Regions from separate parts of the Homo sapiens genome. Here region 1 is linked to region 2. The links are contacts of gene promoters, found by promoter capture Hi-C in blood cells and fetal thymus (Javierre and others, 2016). All regions are on one chromosome and are shown on one strand. Each heading gives the region's core, a stretch centred on a gene start or on the middle of the fragment in contact. The rest is flanking DNA. Distances are from core to core; before and after follow the strand shown.

Region 1 (5,027 bases), core at 1,056-3,555, 2.5 Mb after region 2:
CAGTCACAGCCGACTAGCTTCAGCCAATCACAGGCTGCCAATTGATCAGACCATGTCCAAACAAGTAAAAAATGCTAAGCTGTAACCAACCAGTTTCTGTACCTTACTTTCATTTTCTGTCCATATGTACTGCCTACCTACTTTGCAGAAGTGAGATCTCTGAACCACTCTGCTGGCTCTTGAGAGCTACTGGATTCCCAAATAATTCTCTGCTTCATTAAACTCCTTTAAATTTGTCTAAAGATTTCCTTTTAATACATTTCATCTCATTTTTATTTTTCTAAATTTTGATAACTTTCATTGACTTTTATCATAAAAATCAAGTCTAATACAAAATAAAACAATATAAAAATAAATGTATTGAAATTATATCAATTTTATTTCCTGACATATTTTCTTGATTTATATCATTACAAAAGATAAAAACTATCAGCATGGAGTTTTGAAACCATAAAAAATTTTTTTGAAAGAATGAGGAAAAGCAGCAAGAACTTTGGGTGTGATGGAGGTATGTGGTTAATTTAATAGGACTGATTTTTTTTTTAATTCTGGGATTTTTCTCACATAACCATATAATCTATTTGAAAACCAGATATTTACTAGAAGAGAGTGGCAAATATCCACTACTGAATAGATAAGAGTTTAGACATTAAAACTGAAAGCACTCTTAAGTATTTTACATGTAAAGAGGTTTAAGACACAGAACTAGTGGCCAATAAAACTGCTGAGAGGTGGCAAAATGACAGTCAGAAAAGCTGCTTTCAAGATATTTTTAAGTGAAGGAATCTCAGGAAGCCATTAACAATTATTTTAGTTGCCTACCACACCTAAGAAGATGATTCTCAGGAAGATCTCCAAAATCAATGGGCAAAAACCCATGTCTGCCATTTGTCAAAGCCCACACATTTATCCTCAGCCATGGCATGAGAACAATGGCTTCTGCTCTTCTACAACACCAAGAAATTTTCTCTTATCACTTAGATACAACTGAACCCCAATGGCAATGAAGCTTGTTTCCAGTCTTTATGTCCCTGTGAAATAAGAAACAACTTACAAATTTAGAGATGATAATACAGCAACAATATCTGAAAGAACTACACTTGAACACAAGAATTCAAACCCTAAAAGTAATAAAGTAATACCAATAATGATGTTATTTCACATACAGCTGTTCAATTGGATAATCACTGAATTGTCCTTACCGTTTAATTTATTTTTCTCCAGACTTACTCTATATGAACTATTCAACAATAGCAACAAAATAAATCAATAAATAATAAACAAGAGAGGTGAAGAATAATATCATGTGATTGATTTTTCTCTTCTTGAGAGCTTGTTTGGAAGTTCTAGCAGGGAAGCCCATCTACTCACGTGCCCTTGACTGAAGATGGGTCCTTCTCCATCGCGGATGGTCATCCTCTTTTACCGAGCACACAGCTTTGGAAGGAACGCATATGGAGTGGTGAGGAAGGAAGGGAACACCTGTCTAGTCAACCAGATCTGCTGCACCAACCCTGGCAATCAAATGGTTGATAGATGTTGCTCTTAGATTGCCCTCATATCCATAATTTTTCTCTTCTTCTTCTTCTTCCTTTTACCAAAACAACTACAACAACAACAAAACAAATAACTTTAATTTTGAAATGGCATTATGAGAAAAGGGTTCTGTATCGTGCTAATCCTTTTTTTTTTTTTTTTTTTTTTGAGACAGAGTCTGGCTCTCTCGCCCAGGCTGGAGTGCAGTGGCGTGATCTCGGCTCACTGCAACCTCTGCCTCCTGGGTTCAAATGATTCTCCTGCCTCAGCTTCCTGAGTAGCTGGGATTACAGAAGCTCACTACCACGCTCAGCTAATTTTTGTATTTTTAGTAGAGACGGGGTTTCACCACGTTGGCCAGGCTGTTCTCGAACTCCTGACCTCATGATCCGCCCACCTCAGCCTCCCAAAGTGCTGGGATTACAGCTGAGCCACCACACCCAGCCTGTGCAAATACTTTTTATGAGGAAATCATAGAAAAAGTATCTGTTAGTTGACAGGCAGTATCCATATTACAGTGTTTGGTTTGAGCACTTGAGTTGTTCTGAAGCTAGGTTACCATGAAAATAAATACAGTGATACTTGGAATCAGAGAACACATATGGTCAGCATTTTCCAGATGGCATATTTATGTCAAATGTATAGACATTATAAGAAAAAATATTATAAGTCAATATTAAGAAGACTCTCTAAATATTTAGGTAAATACAATGCACTGTTCCCTCCGCCCAGAAATAGAGTATGATCCTGGCACCTTGCCAAGAAACACATAGAAATATCCTTGTACGTTGTGCTTATAGTAGATAATCTGAAAAGTTTCATCCAAATCTTAAATTCTAGATATGAATAGTTTGTAATAAAGTGTTAGAAGGATCAAGATTAAAAATTATTTGCATATGGTTCCCAACGCCTCTTAGTAATCAGTGGATGATAAGTTCCTTGTAACTTATTTTAATAAAAAGTCTTGAGTACAGAATGTGAGTATATTATAGACTAAATATTTATATTCCTTCCCCCAGATTCATATATTGAAGGCCTAACTGCCAATATGACTGTATTTGTGTATTTGGGGAAGAAGCCTCTACAGATATAATTAAGGTTAAATAAGATCATTAAATTGGGACACTAATCCAATAGAAATAATGTCTTTATAAGAAGAAACACCAGAGAGAAAAATAACTTTCTCCTCTCTCTCACTCTCTCTCTTTCTCTCTCTCTCTAGCTGTCTCTCCAGGAGGACACAAAGAAAAGATCAAGACAGCATGTAGCAAATGTAGCAAGGAGGCATCCAATCATCTGCAACCCAAGGGGCAAACCCTCGCCACACACCAACCCTGCTGGCTCCTTGCTTTTGGACTTCCAGTTTCAGAATTATGAGAAAATACATTTCTGTGTTTAGGCCATCAAGTCTATTGTATTTTGTTCTGACAGCCTGAACAGACTAATACACAGTATAATACAATTGAATTGTTGATTCATCTAAGAAATATATAATTTCTACATGGTTTGTTGCAATTATCTGGGAATAAATATTACCATGACCACTTATTCAGAACTTGATATCTGTATTTATTTCTAAGCATGCATATAATCCCATTACTTGGTAGTCATTTGAATGTATGTTCCACACTTACACCAAAAAGTGATAATAGTATTGACTTCATATAAGAAGTCTTGATAGTCAGTAGTATTGACTTCACATAAGAAAATATTATAAATTAATTCCAATTCCAATTTATGAAGATATTATAAATTTAATATCTCTGAATGTAAATTCTCGGTTGTTCTAGATATAAAAATAAATTATTGATTTATTTTGCTAAGCTACTATAAAACACAATAAAATTTAAAAGCCTCAATTTTGCTGATTGTTTACTATTACAAATCATGCTGGAATGGACATTCTCATATTCTGTTTAGTCTTAATCCTTCCCCCACCAAATCCAATGGAGTCAAGGATTTGGACACAGACACTTTATTTTGAAGTTGATCCCAGGCACCAAAAATGAGAAAAGAAAGAAAGGGAAATAGGTAAGAGAAAAGGGGCAATAAAGTTACGTCTTAACAAGCTTGAGTACCACAGTTAACAACTGAGTCACAATCCCACTGGGGATTGTAAGGAACATACCTTGGGTTAGTTCTACCCCAGTACAAGGAAGCTACAGGATTTAGCCATTGCCTTTTAGCCCCAATTGTTGAGGATTTCCCTTAAGTAGTGTTAACACAGGCACATACTGAGTGTTCCTGTGTCCAGCATTTCTATCTCATTTGTTTTCAGAGAAACGGCTTAAGTGGAGAAGGGTGATGCAGAAACAGGAAGTTACAGTCTAGCAGCAGGTCAGTAGCTGTTTAAAGGAGCAGTAGGTGAACTCATCAGGCCAAAGGGACAGGGAGCATTTACTAAATTTGCACATATGTAAGAGTTTCTCTAGTGTACACATTCAGTAATGATTTCATTACTGAGCTGTCTATGGCTGTTTCTTCAACCTTATAAGATATTGCTACATTGCTCCTCAAGGTTGTGCTGCCCAAAGACAATCCTGCCAAAATAATGAAATGTTCCAGTGGTGTAAAATTTTTATCAGTATATATATAATGGTTATATATATATGTGTGTGTGTGTTTGTGTGTGTATATATATATGGTTAAAATAATATTTTTATCAAATATGTATATACAATTTATGATATAAATTATAAATTATGGTAAAATTATATATTATTATAAACATACATTATAATGTATTATATACATAATTTATATATATATAAAAACCATTTTTGAGGCACTGTTTTTCTTATCAATCCATTAGTTCTTAAACTTTAAATTTTCAGTGTCTTTTCTATATTTTTATTTATTTGTTTTCTGTGCATATTGATTAATTAGATGTGGGGAAGACTAGTTGGGTGTTTTTAAAAATAATAATTCTAAACACATAAGCAAATTGAGAAAAAAATCAGTATTCTTAGACTTTTATAAGTAAGCATATCAGGTAAAGGTTGACCCACAGTTAAACATTTTAGGTCTTTTAGAAAACTCCAAGTAAAAGTTAGATAATTTATCCCTCAGAATTAGATAAGTAATTTTGCCTGTCATGATTATAAATCTGTGCATTGAAATATTTTGACTTTTTATTTGCTAACCCAATGTGACTTGGTCCGCTTTCTAGTGCTATAACAGAATACCATACCTGGGTAATATTTATGAAGAAAAGAAGTTTATTTTGTTCAAGTTTCTGGAGACTGAAAAGTGCAAGAGCATGGTGCTGGCATCTGGCTAGGGCCCTCCTGCTGCATCATCCCATGGCAGATAGGCAGAAATGCAAGAAAGCAGACAAGACAGAGAAGGGGCCAAAATAACTAACCCACTCTCATGATACAGACCTAATTTATTCATGAGGGAAGAGCCCTTATGACCTTATTGAAAGTTCCCACCTTTTCAATGTTGCTGCATTGAGGATTAAGTTTTCAACACACAAACTTTGGGGGATG
Region 2 (4,791 bases), core at 838-3,337:
TTTTCTTTTCTTTTCTTTTCTTTCCTTTTTTTTTTTTTTTTTTTTTTTTGAGATGCAGCCTCACTCTGTTGCCCAGGCTGGAGTGCAGTGGCACGCTCTTGGGTCACTGCAACCTTCGCCTCCTGGGTTCTAGTGATTCTTCTGCCTCAGCCTCCAGAGTAGCTGGGATTACAAGCATGTGCCACCACGCCTGGCTAATTTTTGTATTTTTAGTAGAGACGGGGTTTTGCCATGTTGGGCAGGCTGGTCTCGAACTCCTGACCTCAGGTGATCCGTCCACCTTGGCCTCCCAAAGTGTTAGGATTACAGGCATGAGCCACTGCGCCCAGCCGACAAAACAATTTTCTTAAATTGTAATTCCTTATAGATTAACATAAAGCTTGTGTTATACTTAGTTTAGCACATGTGTAAACAAAGTATCTTTTGGGTGAGTTTATTTTTATATTAACAAGGATGTTTACTTCTTTAGGTAAAGTAACCTATTTCTTTTTCTTTGGTTGGCAATTAGGGCAATACTAATTACCTAATCATAACAGAAGCGGTGCTCTCCAGACTCATTATTCCTATCATTGGATATTATCTGACTGATGAATTGTGATCCCTGTCACAGGCCAAAATAGCGAGGTCCTGCTTCGATAATTGCTAAATATATTTTTCTTGAATTATATATTTTTTGCCTTATGTCGACTGTGAAAGATATAAACTATAACTTCTCACCTTTCTTTTGGTGAGAAAAAAATAGGCCTCAATCATTTTGGTAACAATATAAAACAAGTAAAAGAAAAAAATAGGTCTGAAAAGATCTTGGAGTCACCTTAAACTTTATCTGCCATGAGACACTTAGAAGAATCAGACCTTTGTTGAAGATTACAGAACAGAGACTCCTTCAGTCACACCCAGGAGACAGGTATTCACCGTAAAGACTAGAATGAAGCGTGGGAAGTGGATGGATCCAGTGCAGCCCCAGGGAACTGAACACTCACATGCCCCTGGGAAGCAGGTCTTTGTTGCTCTCCTTCCATCACTTGGTCTCAGCTTGTCTTTGACTGGCTTCTACCACTTGTGCCTCCACCCAACCTGCTGCTACATTCTCCTGGTTTCTGCTTACTCAAATGTTTTGCATCCGAAGCCCATTTTGGCCCCTTCTGCCTTACCCTCTCTTAGCTCCAACCTTTCTCTTACATCAGACAGCTCCGTCTCTGCATTCTCCACTTTCCATTTCCAAGGGAGTGTCTGATTGGCTTACTAACTATCAGAGTCCGTGTTTGATGAGAACTGTTTGCTCCAGGTCACCTCACAGGATGATGACTACATCACGGATTGTGCGCTCTTGGGTCACGCGATCACTCTTAATTTAAATTAGCTGGGCTGGGGGTGGGGAGGGGGTAAGGAACGTTTTTTGTAGTTATTTGTGCAACCCCTGCTCTAGAAATAGTTTGGGTAACTGTTTCCTTTCCAAAAGGACTCTCTGGGTACGGTAAGCATCTCTCTCTCACACACGCATATATTAAAATAACAGTGACTAAAACAAAGGGAGCATGAATAAATTGAATTATGAAGTTAAATGTATGAAATAATGAATGAACAAGGGAAGAAACCGATACTGACCCAGGGTCAACAACTATCTATGTCCAAGTAAAATTTCTTTGCAGTCTGACAAATTGGCTTTCAAGATTGCATTTTGTTTTGCGAATTAAGCCATTTTTAAGTCATGAGTCGTAGTTTTCTGGAGGCCCCCGGCATCCGGAACCCATGAATGCCACGTTCTTTCTAGCAGCCTTCAGCAATTTGAGGGCGCTTTGTTTCTTACGTTGGGAGAGAAATCCATCAGGAAATCGACGCCCAGGATCAGATGCAGATCCTGGGATCCTTGGCTCTGAGTAGCACGGTGGAAAAGTGAGGTAATCCAGGCTCTGGGCCCGTTTTCCTAGGAGCCCAGGGCGCTTCACCTGTCTGCAGTCAGCCCCTTTCTTGGACGTCTCCTCCCCTGAGTTTCCTCCTCATAGGCTTGTCCCTGGGAGTGTGGGCGGCCCCTTTCTTGAGCGCAGAAACACTTACTTTTCCCCCTACCCTGCTCCTCCTCCTCCACAGCCGTCTTTCTCTTTGCCTCAGCCACTTCCTTCCTTGGCCTCACCCTCCCCAGTGCACTGAAGAAGGTAACCGGGTCCAGACCCACGCGGCGCCAGTTCTCCGGCGGGAAGGAAAACCGCGCAGAGAGGTGCGTGAGCGCCCGGGCAGATGTGGCTTAGGTAGCAGGGATGGACTGGGTGTCCGTGGTGCGCCGCCGGGCACCGCGGGCTGCGGTGAGAGTCGGGTCAGGAGGGGGCCGGGAGGGGGCTCAGGGCGCGCGGAAGCTGCGACCGGCTGGGCCGAGACCTCGCGGGTTGGGGTCCCGTGGGGCGCGCGCCGCCCACGCCCCCACCTCTCGGGTCGACTTCCGCACTCGGCTCACGTGACGTTTCGCCGGCCGGGGGCGGACTGGGAAGCCGGCAGAAATGGAACGATTTTTACCGCGGTGCGACGTGTCGGCTTTGCACTTGGCGGTGGTTCAGGAGCCAGTTCTGCAGAGCTGGGTGGGGAAGGGCTGGGGGCGAGAGGAGAGGCTGCCCCGAGGAACGTGGTGGCCTCAGGGCAGTGGACTCTGCAGCGCCGGAGGTGGGTGCGGCTCTGTGCGCTCCAGATCAGGGGGTGCAGAGTCGTGAGGGGACACCAGGGGCTCGTGGAGCCCGGGGCAGGGTCCGTTTTCGTCGCCCGGGTTGGGTGCTCGCTCTCGCGGCGCTTCGGGGCGCCCGGGCCACGGGGGAGGCAGACCCGCGGCGCCGGGCCGGGAGCTGCGGAGACAAAGACTTCCGGGACGCGGCCCTTCCCGGGCGCCAGCGGTGCCGCCCCGCCACGGGGGGCCCAGCCCCGCGCTCCCCAGCCCTGCACTGGTGCCGGCGGTGACCGTGTGATGATGGGCTGCAGGGCACGGGGTTAGGGGACCTCTACCAGGCAGAACCCCAAGCTGGTAGCAGAATGGCCAAATATGGAGTGAGCGCGCCCCAGACCGGAGGGAGTAAGGAGCCCAGTCACCCTTTGACCCGCACCAGCTGCTTGTCCGCGATTGCGAAGAAGGGCTGGGAAAACGTGCCCAGCCCGAGTGTGTAAAGTTGGTTCCTGATTCCGGACATACCTATTCCAGTAGGCTTTATTTCCTTGGATATTAGAAAATCTCCATGCATTGCCTCCAAACTTTTGAAAAATAACAATGCCCTGAGGGTCCTTAAATACATTCTAAAGTGTGTATTGGTGGTGAGTTTCGGGTTCTGCCCAGTCCTCCGACTTTCCGCTTCCTTTGTGTTTCCCACGCACAAAGCCGAAATCGATTCTGCGACAATTAGAGTGCCTGGCCGTCATCTACCTCGCCTTCCCTGGAGCCTTTTCCTGTCTTCTGGTCCAGCCGCTCACCATTAAGCTCTTCCCTTTAGACTTGCTCTGCTTCTCACCTCTCCTCATTGTTCTTTTCTTTTTTTTTTTCTTAGACATAGTTTCACGGTACTCGTGAGAATGTGTTACATTCGTATAACCAAATCAGGGTAATTGGTATATCCATCACCCTAAATATTTATCTCTTCTTTATGCTAGGAACATTCAACTTAACTTGCTTTTAGCCATTTGGAAGTGTACAATCCATTAATGTGAACTATAGTCACCCCACTGATCAATGCAACACCAGGTCTTATTTCTTCTGTGTTTATACCCATCAACCTCTCTTCACCCTCCGCCCCCTTCATTGTTCTTCATCTTGCTCTCTGCAGTCCTGGGATTCTGTCCTTATTATAAAAGGCCATGGGTCTTTAAAGGATTGTGTCACAATAGGTATTTTTCCCCCTTTGTCCCTCTCCTTCCTAAATAATAAATAAATAAAACGTCAAATTATGTATGCTAGCAATTGTTTTTAAACCTGTTATTTTCCTATTTATGGTGGTCTGGGCAGGGAGCCTTTCTTGCTTTGTAAGTGTTCTGCCTTGGTAAGAGCTCAGCATGTCACGTTTCATACAAATACCACTCACTATTATATTTAGTGTATTTGCATAATGGCAAAAGAGGAAGAGGAAGCGGGGAAACAGCCACCACGATGTGGTAGAGACAGCATTTAATTGTGGGGCATTAACCCCTGTTTCGTTATCCTTAAAATAGAGGTAAATAAATGCCTTGCAAGGTTCTTAGAACTACATGAATTAACGTAGATAAGGAGCCTGATGTGTAATTAATTATAAAGAAACGCTGGTTGCCTTTCATGCTTAAAATTGGATGAACGTACATCTGCTTACTATAATGCAGGTATGCGTACTATATATAATAGATGAATTTCCCCTTTGATGCTCATTATTCAATGAGAGCTAAGTCTGAAGTATGTTGCTGGAGGTGGGAGGAAGGAGCGAAGAAGGGTGTTAAAGAGATAACATCTTTCCGGGGTCGGGAATCAGAGAATCAGAGAATTGGAAAGTTCCTTAATTTCTTTGGACATTTTCATTCTCCCTCTGTCCAGTACAGGCTAATTTCCTCATCATCCCTCACAGATCCTTACTATGTCTGCATTAATATTTCTAGGAACAGGGTGCAAACTTTATTCATTGTTGGGCAATTTTAATTGCTAGATAACTTTTTTATATGGCTCTCAAATCTGCCTTTCTATTACACTTACCCATCCTACCCAGTAGAGGAACACAAAGACTATTCATATAAGTACATAAAAAAGAGCTTTAGTTTTTTTTGTTTTGTTTTTAAAGCAGCAGTTCTTCTCTAAGC

Evidence for each region. The method cuts DNA at HindIII sites, captures the fragments that hold promoters and counts their contacts. A CHiCAGO score of 5 or more calls a contact.
Region 1: a fragment that was not itself captured here is called in contact with the fragment with the promoter of ABRACL in region 2 in 1 of 17 cell types (total B cells); the score reaches 5.9 in total B cells.

What each region holds. Positions count from the first base shown.
Region 1 is chr6:141,484,849-141,489,875 of GRCh38, forward strand. It overlaps the pseudogene RN7SKP106. Among named protein-coding and RNA genes, the nearest start is that of GJE1, 650 kb to the right of the region's middle. RefSeq lists a silencer at 3,751-3,951. The HindIII fragment of the contact is 2,596 bases long and covers 1,008-3,603 here.
Region 2 is chr6:139,026,658-139,031,448 of GRCh38, forward strand. ABRACL (ABRA C-terminal like) reads left to right here and starts at 2,088. Exons shown (of 3, transcript NM_021243.3): 1 at 2,088-2,218. RefSeq lists silencers at 2,252-2,411, 2,672-3,041, 3,091-3,281 and enhancers at 2,935-3,229, 3,052-3,871. The HindIII fragment of the contact is 5,437 bases long and covers 378-4,791 here.